Regions from separate parts of the Homo sapiens genome. Here regions 1, 2 and 3 are each linked to region 4. Evidence: promoter capture Hi-C in 16 types of primary human blood cells and fetal thymus (Javierre and others, 2016). All regions are on one chromosome and are shown on one strand. The core of a region is centred on a gene start or on the middle of the fragment in contact, and the rest is flanking DNA. Distances in the headings are between cores, read along the strand shown. Region 1 overlaps THOC1 (THO complex subunit 1). Region 2 holds the start of USP14 (ubiquitin specific peptidase 14). Region 3 holds the start of ZBTB14 (zinc finger and BTB domain containing 14). Region 4 holds the start of METTL4 (methyltransferase 4, N6-adenosine).

Region 1 (3,383 bases), core at 21-2,520, 2.3 Mb before region 4:
ACAGCATTTCACCGTGTTATCCAGGATGGTCTCGAGTTCCTGACTTCATGATCTGCCCACCTCAGCCTCCCAAAGTGCTGGGATTACAGGCGTGTACCACTGCACCCGGCCTATTCTTTTAATTTTTAAAACAGCTAATATCTGATAAACGGCTAGTATCTGAAGCACGTGAAAATCAACAGTGAAGAATACTGACTTTTAACTAACAAAAATCTAAATCTAGTTCTTGCCAAAGCTTTCATCATGAATTAGTAGTATCTGAAAGACTCTAATGGGCATGTTTACTTTCGCTCTTCCTAAACTTTTCCCTAGTAACAACTCTGAAAGTAGGAAAACAATGATGTACACATTAACTTCTCTCTATAATTAAAGCAGCTTCACTGATTTACAACAGTAAGATTATACCTCTGGGTTTTCTATGAATTGGGTTTTTAAAAAAAGCCACAGGCTGGGCACGGTGGCTCACACCTGTAATCCCAACACTTTGGGAGGCTGAGGCGGGCGGATCACGAGGTCAGTTCAAGACCAGCCTGACCAACATACTGAAACCCCATCTCTACTAAAAGTACAAAAATTACCCAGGCATTGTGGTGCGTGCTTGTAGTCCCAGCTACTCAGGAGGCTGAGGCAGGAGAATCGCTTGAGCCCAGGAGGCAGAGCTTGCAGTGAGCCGAGATCACAGCACTGCACTCCAGCCTGGGTGACAGAGCGAGACTCCGTCTCAAAAAAGAAAAAAAAAAAAGCCGCAAAAAGAACATTCCCTAAAACGTTAAAGTAAATAGAGAAAAGAAATAGCACTATATAAATTATTTACATTCATGAAAGAACAAGAACCAATATTTGTATAGTTCCATACATTTGATAAAGAATGTTTCTGAAGTGCATGTGCACACACACACTGAGTAACAAAATGTTACTCAGTTACAACATGTAAGATTGAATATAATAAATACCTCTTGAAATGTACCAGGAAAGTTTGTCTCTTAAAAATGGGGCTACCTCTAACAGAGAATGAGACTCATGCAACCATTATATGTCCCTTTTTGTCTCAATTGCTAAGAACTTCACATCTAATTTAACACTTAATACCAATCACAATATTATTCCATGTTGCTAATTACCATCTCCTACCTGTAAAAGACTTTTGATCTCTTCCCTTTTATCTTTAATTGGCTTGGTGGGTATTTGAGGTGTCTTACAGAATAAATTTTGAAGTAGTGTTAATATCTTACTGTTAGGCAGTTTTTACAGTTGAGGCATTAATATATTTTTAAAAATTTAAAGTCCCCTCTCCTAGATGCTGTCCCTTGCTCTTTTCCTTCACAGCTGAATAAAATTCTTCAAAGAGTTGTCTATACTCCATGTCACCACTTCATTACCTTCCTGTTCATTCTTCAACCCACTTGCAATTTGCCTTCCACCTTCAACACTCCACAGAAACTTTTGAATTTTCTGTTTACCCACACAAAGCAAATGTAACCAATTATTGTATTTGCAAATAATAACAAATCAGAGACCCAGTTACTATGTAAAATAGAATGTCTTGTAACTATTTTAACCAAAAAAACTCTGGAAAACTTGATATATTTTTTTAAATGTTCAGCTATTTTACAGGATGTTATACATTGAAATTTCTTAACAAAAATGTTTACTGGTGTATTTGAGCCAAATCTGAAATGGACTTCATATTGTAGGTAGATGGGTAATGAGTTCTGCTTTGTAAATTACAGTGCCTAAGACCATCTGGTGATAACAGCTGTCACAAAGTAATTCCTCACGTATTTTCTCCCTCTATTCAACATTAGTGACTGTGACAGAGGCAGCTGAGTGTTGAGTCTTATTTAAGTGATTTACAAACATAACCAATAGGGATGAATTGTCTATACAGTCTTAGGCAAAATCTAAGCAGACAAAACTGCACTGGCCAGTGTCTTTTGGGCTGTTTACACTTCAGGTGACTCATCATCTTGTAGCCTACTAACTTGCCCCAGAGCCCTTATGTTGCTCAGGCCAGACCTTAAAGCCTACTTTATTCATGTATAATGAATAAATAGGTCTCTAAAAAAAAATAATAACGATAACAAATAATAGCTACTAGACACTGAATAGACAATATTCTAAGTGCTTTACACTTACCACTACATATAAACAATTAGTGCCTTAATAGACTATTTCTGATCATCGTCTTATTTAATCCTCTTAACTGTAGAGAGTAGGTGGCATTACTACATTTTAAAGATGTGGAAACTGTGTTGTAGAAGGTTAAGTAATTGGCCCCAGGTCACATGACTAGGAAGTATTGGAGTTAAGCTTGGAGCCACACTACCTCTAATGTTTCTTCTGGAGATGTGTTTGAATTTGAATTCTGGGATGCCAGAAATACATCTCCCTGGGCAGATACAGGAATCCCATCTTGATTTTCTAGACAGTAATGGAAATTCTTTCAATTATAACTAATGACTCTCATCACCTCAGACACCTGGAAGAGTGCCAGTGAAGGAAAATTTTCCTTAATGCCTTCTCTTTTCTCTTGCTCATTGCTTCTAAGCCAGCACTAGGAAGAAATTATGGAAAGTCTTCAAATAACGATGTTTCCTTCAACATTGTTTTATTGTAACGTTGATGAGAAAAAAAAAATCGATTCCTGGCTGGGGCCACGGTCTATGTAGAGTTTGCACATTCTCCCTATGTCTGTGTGGGTTTTCTCTAGGTAGTCAGATTCCCTCCTGCATCCCAAAGAGGTGTACATGAAAATAACTGGCATGTCTAAATGGTTCCAGGATAAGTGAGTGTGGGTGGGTGGGTATACACACTGTGAGCAGATGGCGTCCTGTACAGGGTTGGTTCCCGCCCTGCGCTCTGAGCTGCTGTGACAGGCTCTGGCCACCCACAACCTTAAATTGGAATAACTAGGCAAATAATTATCTTACTTGTTTTTATTAATCTTTCTCAAATGCATGTATAGCTCACATTTATTCAATGTTTAATAACAGAAGCATTTTGATCTTTATCTAGGAGTTTGGTGATTGTTTTTGTGACCAGAAATAGGCCATAAGAACCTAACTTTTGTTTGTTAGCCTATGGGAAAATTGATTTCATCATACATCATTTCACTTAATGTTGCAGTTTCTAGAACCTATCTATGCCACTGAGGATTGCTTTTGGAAAGAAAGCACAGGGCTACAGAGGAGGAGATAAGAAACAGTTTTAAGAGCAAGGGGAGAGAAGGAGGAAAGGCTTCTTAACTTGCCTATTTCATTAAAAGTTAGCCCAATACACACAGGCACTGGGTCCACAAGTTTAATGGAAGGGATTAAGGGGAGGAGCTCCTAAGGCTGCCTGTGGTTGGCTTTTCAAATGCTGGGATTATGCATAGGGTAGTC
Region 2 (3,263 bases), core at 156-2,655, 2.4 Mb before region 4:
CTTGCCTTAATGTTGATGGCTGCTGACTGATCAGAGCGGTGGATGCTAAAGTTTGGGGTAGCTGTGGCAATTTCTTAAAATAAGACAATAATGAAATCTGCCACGTCGATTGACTCTTCCTTTCATGAAAGTTTTCCCTGTGACATGCAGTGCTGTTCAGCATTTTACCCACAGAAGAACTTTCAAATTTGAATTTCTTTCAAAATTAGAGTCAATCCTGTCAAATTCTGCTGCTGTTTTATCAACAGTTCCATAGTTTATGATATTCTAAATCCTTTGTTGTCATTCAACAGTGTTCACAGCGTCTTCACCAGGAGTAGTTTCCATCTCAAGAAACCACTTTCTTTGCTTATCCATAAGAAGCGACTCCTTGCCCATTAAAGCTTTGTCTTGAGATTGCAGCAATTCAGTCACATCTGTGGGCTCCACTTCTAATTCTAGTTCTCTTGCTATTGCCACCACACCTGCAGTTGTGTCCTGAACTCAAGCCTTGAACCCTTGTGGGAAAAGACTTGTTGCCAGAGCAGTCAGAATACACAAAACATTGGAGTTAGCTGTTTTACACGGGGGTGGTTAGTGGCACCCCAAAACAACTAAAATAGTAATCATAGATCACTGGAACAGATATAATAGTATTTAAAAAGTTCAAAATATTGTGAGAATTACCAAAATGTGACACAGAGACACGAAGTGAGCACATGCTGTTAGAAAAACAGAACTGATGGACTTACTAACCCAGGGTTGCCACAAACCTTCAATTTATATATATATATATATAAATATATATAAATATATAAATATATATAAATATATAAAAATATATAAATATATAAAAATATATAAATATATATATATAGAACGCAATAAAATGAGGTGTGGGTGAAAAGAAAACTGAGGTTTGCAGACATCATACAGCTAGCTAGTAACAGCTGGGTTTCAAAACACCTCTGACTTTACAACCACTAATTTTATTTATTTTATTTTGAGGCAGGGTCTCGCTCTGTCGCCCAGGCTGGAGTGCGGTGGCACGATCACAGCTCACTGCAGCCTCGACCTCCTGGGCTCAAGCGATTCTCCCGCCTCAGCCTCAGACAGCAGGTGGGATACCAAGTTCCCACTTCATCTGCCGCAGGGCTGGGCCGCGCCAGGACCACGTGGCCAGTGCGCGCAGGGCGATGGGCGGCAGTGCGCAGGCGCGCACCTGCTGCGGTGGATGGGGCCCCGCGCCCGTCCCTCACTTGCTCCCTCCTTCCTTCCCGCCACCCCTCCACCGCCTTCCCCCTCCTCCCTCCTCTCGCCACCTCTAGGCCCCGCCCCGGTCCTGCCGCCCAGTCTCCTCGCTGCAGTCGCTCCGGAGCTGCACGGGTGTTTTGCGTGTTGCTGCGTCATCGCCAGTGGCCGGTTTGAATGAGACTCGTCGCACCGAAGCCGCCGCCACCACCGCGCCTCCGCCTCGGCCGCCGCCGCAGCTGCTCCTGGTCCCCGTCCCTTTGCCGCCCTCGTCAGGCCCAGCTCTCCTGCGCCGCCGCCTCCCGCCGCGCCCCGCCATGCCGCTCTACTCCGGTGAGCCCTGTCCTGGCCTCGCGCGCAGCACACCGGACCGGCGCTAGGCCTCCGCGTAGGCCTGGCCTGCACGGGCGGGCACCCGGCATGGACTGGGAGGGGCCGGGGTGGGGTGCGCGGGGCCGGCGGCGCGGAGATGACCCAGGCACCGTCCCCTCTCCCGGCTGGGTCGGAGCCCTGCGTGGCAGGGGAGCGCCGTCCCCCTGAGCCACCGATGGGTGGGGGGAGTGGAGATGGGGAAGCCTCTCAAAGTCGTGACTCTGCAGAATAGTTTCTGACGCTGCCCTGGTGTGCGGTGAAAGTGAGGGTGTGTCCTGGGGCGCTGGGCCAGGCTGGAGGTGCAGGGAGATTCCTTTGGGCTTCTCAGTGGTCGCCGTGGAAGGGAGCGGGGAAGAAGGGGAGGGATGGAGCGACCCTTCTTGGGGTTGCCAAGCGGCGTTCGCCGCCCTTCGTCGTCCTTCGCCCTTCTCTTGCCCCTTGCCTTTGTTCGACCGCCCCTTTGGTACCAGTTTTAGTTTTGTCCCGAGGCAGATTGTAAACCTTTTTGCTTCGTTTTCGTTTCATCAAACGTTGCATTGGATTTCTGTATCCGAAACGTGGTGTGAGCTTTCAGAAGTAGATGAATACACATATCCCCGGGGTGTCATTTCTTGATTGGCGTTTGACAGGGGCTTGTATTGTTTGCTTGCTGACAGTCCAGGGTACTGGCCAGGGATCACTTTTACTTAGGGAATGGACCTTGCTGCTCCCTAGCCTTATTCAAAATGGCACCTAAAATATGTGTGGTGTCTCCAATTGGCTGTAGGTGTGTGATTCGTTGACCATCCCTGTTTATTCTGTTACAGTTCCTTTATTGAAGATTCAGCATTTACAAAGCATGATACGAATCAAGAGTATTGTTTGATCTCAAGGTGGATTCTTGATGGTCTAGAATCTTGAATCGAATTCTTAATGATTGCCCAACCCCTTTCTAAAGCCATAACAACAGTAGAATGGCTCTTGAAATATTCTAATACTTAAACACACCAGTAGATTCACACACATAAAACAAAACCCCTCTGTTTCCTCAAAATGCCAGCGCTGACCAGAGTTTCTTTTTTAAAATTTGAGCTTTATCTTAAATATTTAATCAGATCTTTTCCTCATCCCCCAAATGAAGGAACTCAAGTAGATTTCTAAGGTCCCTTCCTTTGACCTCTCCATATTGAGAATCTGTATTTTGAGGGTCAGCAAAAAGCTCTATATTAAAATGAAGAGAACATTTTAAGTACTATTTCATAAGATTTAGTAGAAAATTAAGTATCTAGTCTGAGCGCGGTGGCTCACGCCTGTAATCCCAGCTCTTTGGGAGGCTCGAGGCGGGCGGATCACTTGAGGTCAGGAGTTCGAGACCGCCTGGCCAACATGTTGAAACCCTGTCTCTACTAAAAATACAAAAAATCAGTCGAGAGTGGTGGCAGGTGCCGGTAATCCCAGCTACTGGGGAGGCTGAGGCAGGAGAATCGCTTGAACCTGTGAAGCGGAGGTTGTAGTGAGCCAAGATCGCGCCATTGCACTTCAGTCTGGGTGAAAAAAGCGAAACTGGGTCTCAAGAAAAGAAAAAAAGAAAATTACATATCTAGATTATTAAATGGTTAAGGATAAGTGCAGTTAAAAATTAAAGCCAGGGGCCATGATGTATGCTTTTAATCCCAGCTACT
Region 3 (3,359 bases), core at 313-2,812, 2.7 Mb after region 4:
AAGAAAAGTGAACACACCGAGCTACCCAGCGTAGAAGCGGGATGTCTCATCTGAAGTTTGAGGTTAGGCAACATTTCCAAAAGATGATTCTGACTTGATCATTCTACGTGTTTCTGCCTCTCTATTCCCTAGAAGCACCCAGGCCTGTAATCATCCAGAGGCTAGGCAGCCCAGCAAAAACCTTACACTGTGACACTTACTACTGTTGTCACTAACTCGTCCTAGGGCTTGTGGGATAAAAGTGCATGGGACCAGAGAGAGGAGTGGCCTTAGACTAGCTATGACAACATATCAATGTGTTGTTGTTGTTTTGGCTAGTGTGTACTTGGCCACTCGCCCCTCTCCCCTCTCTCTCTCAAGATGTATGAGACCTGGAAGAGAGACCATGTGTGTCCAAAGCCGCCTCCTCCCCGCCCCGCCCCCCTTGCCATTGAGATGTCCAATTGCTCAGTTCAGGTGAGTCAAAACTGGAAGACAGCTGTTGCCAGCATCTGTGTAGGCAGGTGTAGGAAAAGACGTAGCCCCAACACCACCTTCATAATAAGGCTGCCCCTTCCTAATTGCTCTCCAAACTGCGGGCGCGCTAAGCCGCGTTACAGTGCAGGGAGCCGGGCTTCCCGCAAAGCCAAAAACTTACATAAGCAGCTGCAGCCGCCTCCCCTGCCCCGGGCAGCCCGACAATGGCGGCTGCACGACTTCCTTGTTGCAAGCTTGCAACTTCGGAGTCGGGAGGAAGCAGGGAGCCAAGCGCAGACCCAAGAAGCCCTCAAGGCGTATCGAGTCCTCCCTCTCAATTTCTTTGGGCCTGGGAGGTGGGGAGTGGAGGAGGCCGTTTGCACTCCTTCCCAGACAAAAGCTCCCAGCCTGGGAGCCAGGTGGTGAAAGGGCCACTTTCCCTTTCATAATCAGACGTCGAGCGCAGGCTTGGGACCGCGGCTCGGAGCGCGCAGGGAGGGACTGCGGCCCGCGGCGGCCCCGGCGGCGCGACGAGCGGGAGCGGGCGTGCGGCCGGCTCCGCAGCCCCGCGCCGCGCCGCGCCCCGCTCCGCCCGCGAGCCCGGAGCTCGCGCCCCGCGCACTCCCCGGCCAGCTCGCGCCGGGCCCTCCCCCGCCCTCCCGCGGCCGGGGGCGGGGGCGGCGCGCGGCCGGCTAACCCAAGCTCCGCGGGCGCACCCGGGAGTGCGTGCGCTGGGTCCCGGCCCCCTCCTCCGCCGGCGGCTGTAGGCGGCGCGGCGGGGCCCGCGGCTCGGAGGGGCGGCGCCCGGCGGGCCGCGCTCCGCGCTGGGTTCGGGCCGTCCCCACCCCCACCGCGGTGCACTGCGGCGGTGCGAGCGGGGGCGGCCATGAACTCGGCCGCCGAGGCTCTGCGAGCGCGCGCGCGGGGCCGCCGCCGCCTGGCCGCTCCCCGAGCCCGCTCGCCGGCCCGCGCGGCCCCCGGGGCGCCCCGGCCCCACGCCCAACCCTGGCCCACGCCCGTCCCCGCTCGCACCGCGCCGCGCCGCTGGCGGCCGCCGCACATCCTGGAGCTGGCTGGTGCCCCAGAGCTCGGCGAGAACGCGCGTCTTCCGGGCCGCCCCGCCAGCCGCCGGCCGCCCCCGCGCCCGCCTTGCGGACGGCCCCAGCCCCTTCCGCACCCTGGCCCGCGCTTACCTGCAGCCTGGCACAGGCACAGACACTGCCGTGGGTTCCCCGCGCTCGCTAGCAAACGCAGGCCGGGACCGGAGGGGCTCGGGGCGCGGGGGCACGGTGGGTGGCAGTGTGTTTTGGATTTTTTTTTGGAGTTTGGGGAGGGGGCGGGGTGGGGGAAATCGTGCACGTCCCTGATGGTAGCAGCCCTCCTCCTGCACGAGCACAGAATGTCTAGCCGGCCGTGAACACCCCCACCGCCCCCCCCTTCCCGTGCATGCGCGGTGCGGGCTGGGGGGAAGGCGCGCCGCCGGCTTGCGCAGGCACGGAACCCGACCGGGTCTCTAAGTGGGCGAGCAAAGAAAGGGTTAATCCGGGCCCTTGCCGACGCTTTCGTTGGAGACTACGGGGCCGCCCCCGGAGGGCCCTGGCCTGCGCACGCGCGCGCACGCGCGCGGCTTGGGGCGCGCGGAGCCCGCGCGCGGGAGAAGGAGTGGGCGGGGCAAGGGCGGGGCTTCGGGAGCCAGGGAACTTAAGCACGAGCGCTGCTCGCGGACACCCGCCCCGCCTCAAGCTCCCTCCCGCCCTGGTTCGTGGGCTTCCGCCCGCGCCCGGCGCCGGCGCAGCGCCGGGGACGCGGGAGCCAGCGCTCCCGTGCGTGTGCATGTGCGTGGGCCAGAGCCTCCCCCGGGCGCGCGCAGGCCGGGCGCTGAGGCTGCGGGGCTCTGCCGCGTCTCGGAGCGGGCGCCCCGGCCACTTTCGCCCTCCGCGCACACCGGCCGACACCGGGAGGCGCGCCCACGGGTCTGCGGTCTTGCCTCTTGCCGCCGGCACATTGAGTTTGTGGGGGAGTGGACGGTGCACAATAAACACTTGCAGAACAAATGGAAAAAGCGACGTCTTCGATTTGTAGTGTAAAGCGCAACCCCAGTTGCCCAGCAGAAAGGGATCACCCATAGGGCTTCGGAGCTAGTAGGTCCGCGCCCGGACACTCCAAGGAAAAGTCCAGGGGCTGGAGGCGGCGACCCGTCTGTGGCAGTCCAGACCCTGGACTCGATTCGGAGAGCTCTGATAACTTGGCTCTGTCCTTAACATCCCTGCTCAGCGCCAGTAATGGCTCCGTTGCTGTTGAACCACGTCGCCTTCCCTCTGACGCGGCGGCTGTGCCTGTGTCTGGCGTCGGGAGCTGGGAAGTCCCTCCCGCTCCCGCGTTTTCTGCTCACCGAGATGCAGGAGGCCGGACAGCAATGCCGCGCCGCCTTAGAGTCGCTCATGTTGCTTTACCTCACACGCGAAGTTTCCCCGAAACGCGTAATTTAATATCTAAAGATTAGAGCAGAAGCTTCCTCTTGGGCTTATTGAAGATGACATAAGATAGTGCTTGCAACAGGCACCTAAGTAAACATTTGGGAAATAATATGATGATTGGATGTGTTAATTTTCTAAAGGAAGTTCTATATGGCCTCAGTTGATTTTGTAATGTTAATTGACTTTGGTTTAACGTTCCCCAAGGCGACTTTATACGCATCTTTTTTGATGTTCACAAAAGCACCCAAGTTACGGCTTATATGGAGGAAATAGGATGGAAGAGACCGGTTGTAGAGTCAGACATATCCAGTTCACATATTGGGTAAATTGTTTAACTTCTCTAAACCTCAGCTGAAGGAGAGCTATGGAAAGCACCTAATAAGGCACTTGTAAGGATTAAGTGAAATAATGCCCAGCTAAGGTATT
Region 4 (3,506 bases), core at 804-3,303:
CCTGGAGTCTCCGCCTTCTCCCCCTACCGCTCTCCCTTCCTCCCACCCCCACCCACTGCAACAGCCCTCTAGCCTGGGAGGCTTGTTAGAGTAGACGTGAAGATCACAGCCTGTGGGACCACTGCTGAGTGTGTGGGCACTCAGTTTAAGTATTCAGTGATGCTCCTTCCAAACCACTGTCCTGTCCCCACCTCTTCCACTCCCACCCTTGGCCAAAGCACAGATCATAAGCCCTCTGCTCCGCTCCCCTCTGAGATTCGCCTTCCATGAGGAATTCAGGGCTTTCCCCATATCTTCTCTTCCCCACCTTTATCAAGAGATGCTGCTCCCTCCCCGTCAAGTCTCTTTTTGCACTGTCACCACCCAACACTTTCCACGACACTTCTTTGCTTTGACCAGAAGCCATAAGGTAAGGTTGGAAGAACATTTATTCACTCTCCACCAGCCTAGGAAATTAATAGTGGGTCCTCAGCCCTGCCACCTTCTGCTGTTATCATCAGCCTTTTAACTCAGGTTTTGATATGGTGAAAAGAGTCACCAGGGTTATTCAGACACCCCGGCTGTCAGGGTCCTTGGTGGTTAAACCTGGGAAAAGGCCACATGAAGACAACTGTAAGCACACATGATCCCTCTGAATTGTTTTCTTTTCCTGCAATTGTGCTTGCTCTTAAAAATTGAAGTTTTAAACAGGGCTCACATGTGATCATCCTTCCATCTATTGGAGTCTAGCTTGAAATGTGACAACCGGAACCAAAAGAACCTTGAATTTGGTGCCTACTTTGGTTTTGGTGCTGCTGCTTCTCAAGATCCTCAGCAGGGATTAAGAAGTTGGGGTGCACAGCAGGAATATCAGGAAATTGGCAGGCTTGACTTCCTGGCAAATTGCTAGCAGGACCACTAAATGCTGAACTGTACTGTGAATGTATACCGAAATACAAGCAATTATTTCTGTACTAAAGGTGTTTTTAATTTTGTATTTGTGTAAAACCACCTTTGGAAGCAGCAACTATCTAGTCAGAAAAGCAAATGATGTTTCCATTAATCTTTTCTGGGGAAAACATTAGTGCTAAGGATTTAACAATCTGTAGGTAAAGTTTAACCTAACAGTATTCCACAAGGAGACTTTTTATTATCAGACGGTTGCCTAATTTTCATATAATTTTTATATTAATATAATCCTTGGTTCCTCCCCATCCCCTTCATAGGCCACAGCTGAGGTGAAAAGGGTCCTGGAATGGCTAGTGAGAGCTAGAAATTCAGACGGGAAAATTGAAACTCAGAGCAGAAAGGCAAGCTGCCCAAAAATAACAACGCTAGTTAATGGCACAATTGCTACCAGACCCAAGTATCCAGACTTCCTGGAGCTGTGAGATCTTTCATCACCACCACTCTCCAGGTACCGGGCAGTGCCTGTTTCTGGATTCAAACTCACAGCAGCGAGGAAATCCTATTTTAGCAAAGTGATCTACTGTTACTGTTGTTAGTGCACCCCTCTCCTGCGTCTCTGCTTCACATCCACTCCCTCGCCGCCCGCCCCCAAACACTTGGATTCTTCCTAGCCTCTCACAGGTCAGCCACCACCAGAGGACCGTGAGCCTCCGGCAAGTGATCAAATACTGAGCCCGAATTTCGGCAGCCGTACCAACGCAATCCTGGGAGCCCATTCCACCCACTCCGCAGCCCCTCTCCCACCTCACCTCTTCCCTTGTCAGAAAAGCGGACGCCGCCTTCCCAGACTCTCCTCATGAAAACAGCACCCATCTAAATAGTGATCATGAAAAATGCCCCTTCCAGTCCACAGAGAAAAAGCTTTCTCCTTTTCTAAGAGTCCATGGGCGCCGCCATGTTGCTGTACGGAAAAACGTTTCCAGGGCGAGTTGAGCGTTCAGGGCACTCCTCGGCGCTCAAGCTGCCCACAGGTCTTCCGACCTAACTTTAGGGGTCGTGCCAGTCTTCGTAGAGACGGCCACACTGGCCCACAGACCCCAGTTCCTGGGGTGACGCAGCTGGGCGCGACCAGCACGCAGCCTTCCAGCGACGAGGCGGTCGCATGGAAGTTACTGCGCGCGTCGTGCGTAATGACGTCAGCGCCGGCGGAGAATTTCAAATTCGAACGGCTTTGGCGGGCCGAGGAAGGACCTGGTGTTTTGATGACCGCTGTCCTGTCTAGCAGATACTTGCACGGTTTACAGAAATTCGGTCCCTGGGTCGTGTCAGGAAACTGGAAAAAAGGTGACTGAATGACATCGGATTAACTTTGTTTCTGCAGAGCTGTTCTGGAGGAAGAAAGTGATGGCGCCAATGACTTAAATTTAGAGGTCCTGAGGCGATGTTTTGGTGTTTGTTTGCTGTTGGGAGAAGCCTCGAGGCCAAAACTGTGCGAGGCGCTGGTTTCACGGGATCTATTAAATTTCTAGTGGCAACGATTTCCCAAGGAGGAAAGGGGAGGGCCTGGGGGACACTGATGAGGAGTGGAGGCTCGGGAGAGGAAACGGGGAAGAATTGAAGGGGGCGGAAAGAGATGGACAAGAGAGGACTCGTTGGGTGGGTTGCGTCTGAATACTAGTGTAGCTTCTTATGGCCGTGTAGGACTGCGTGTAGAAGTCTTCATCTTAAATCATGAGAGCTACATTCTAAGTGGAGATTAAACGTGGACACACAGGTGTGAGTGGAAAAGTTGAATAGATGAACAAGCGCATATTGAAGAGGAAATAGGCGGCCAAAATCAAGAAGAGTCTAATCAGTGTAAAAGACTAAGGAGTACCCAGAGAAGTAAAAGGATTGTCACCTTCCTGAAAGCCAGGGCAGGACCTGAGAAGGCTGGGTGCAGAGATGAGACAGGATCAAAAGTTTTGTCAATCATGTGTATCCTAGGAGACAAATTTTTTAGCAGATGTGAAGGGAGTGACCTGTTAATGTGGTTTGTAAATGGAGGCAGCCTATAGACCATTTTATGGACCGGATGATTTATCCTTGTTGAAGGGGAGATTGATGCCAAAAGGGCAGTAATTGAGGAAACAATGGGTTAAGGACAGAGCAGGAGAGATTGACATTAGGAAAACAGAATAATTCCATTCTCTGAAACCAAAGAAAAGGAAACATTTTGAGGTGAATAAGAGAATTTGAGGTAATTTTTTTGTCTTCCTATTGAAATAGGCACAGCCAACAGCAGTAATGTGGTCTGGGTAACAGACAGGGCTTTAGCTACCACGGATACCCTTGTGAAGGCAAAAACCGTAACTTACTCGTCTTTGCATCTCCTGCATTGCCTAGCACACTCCCCTATATATATAGTGGGCAGTTAATAAATGTTTATGTTGAATATTTTTAAATGGAATTAAATAGATGTTCCTTGCAAATGAGAACTTCAGTGTACATGAACAAAAAAGAGATACCCCAGGGGAAAGATGATGATCTTGAAGAAACAATGAAACCTGACTGTCTTTCTGTTTAAGGATAAATAGTTGCTTAATGTACCATCTCTGTCTGGAAAGTTTTTTTTAAAT

Evidence for each region. The method cuts DNA at HindIII sites, captures the fragments that hold promoters and counts their contacts. A CHiCAGO score of 5 or more calls a contact.
Region 1: a fragment that was not itself captured here is called in contact with the fragment with the promoter of METTL4 in region 4 in 1 of 17 cell types (M0 macrophages); the score reaches 6.3 in M0 macrophages.
Region 2: a contact is called between the fragment with the promoter of USP14 here and the fragment with the promoter of METTL4 in region 4, in 1 of 17 cell types (erythroblasts). The highest score is 6.0, in erythroblasts.
Region 3: a contact is called between the fragment with the promoter of ZBTB14 here and the fragment with the promoter of METTL4 in region 4, in 2 of 17 cell types (fetal thymus and total B cells). The highest score is 10.7, in fetal thymus.

Annotation. Positions count from the first base shown.
Region 1 is chr18:248,939-252,321 of GRCh38, forward strand. The region is part of intron 9 of THOC1 (THO complex subunit 1); the gene reads right to left. Among named protein-coding and RNA genes, the nearest start is that of THOC1, 17 kb to the right of the region's middle. The HindIII fragment of the contact is 2,075 bases long and covers 234-2,308 here.
Region 2 is chr18:157,152-160,414 of GRCh38, forward strand. It overlaps USP14 (ubiquitin specific peptidase 14), which reads left to right and starts at 1,406. Exons shown (of 16, transcript NM_005151.4): 1 at 1,406-1,563. The coding sequence starts at 1,548. LOC105371951 (a long non-coding RNA gene) reads left to right here. Exons shown (of 4, transcript XR_935081.2): 4 at 992-1,018. RefSeq lists silencers at 1,078-1,347, 1,618-1,797. The HindIII fragment of the contact is 8,571 bases long and covers 382-3,263 here.
Region 3 is chr18:5,294,164-5,297,522 of GRCh38, forward strand. ZBTB14 (zinc finger and BTB domain containing 14) reads right to left here and starts at 1,563. Exons shown (of 4, transcript NM_001243702.2): 1 at 1,489-1,563. RefSeq lists enhancers at 146-833, 834-1,520, 2,209-2,894, 2,612-2,771 and silencers at 962-1,901, 1,982-2,401. The HindIII fragment of the contact is 2,257 bases long and covers 709-2,965 here.
Region 4 is chr18:2,569,452-2,572,957 of GRCh38, forward strand. METTL4 (methyltransferase 4, N6-adenosine) reads right to left here and starts at 2,054. Exons shown (of 9, transcript NM_022840.5): 1 at 1,698-2,054. It overlaps NDC80 (NDC80 kinetochore complex component), which reads left to right and starts at 2,106. Exons shown (of 17, transcript NM_006101.3): 1 at 2,106-2,232. RefSeq lists enhancers at 1,147-2,069, 1,952-2,111. The HindIII fragment of the contact is 2,186 bases long and covers 1,808-3,506 here.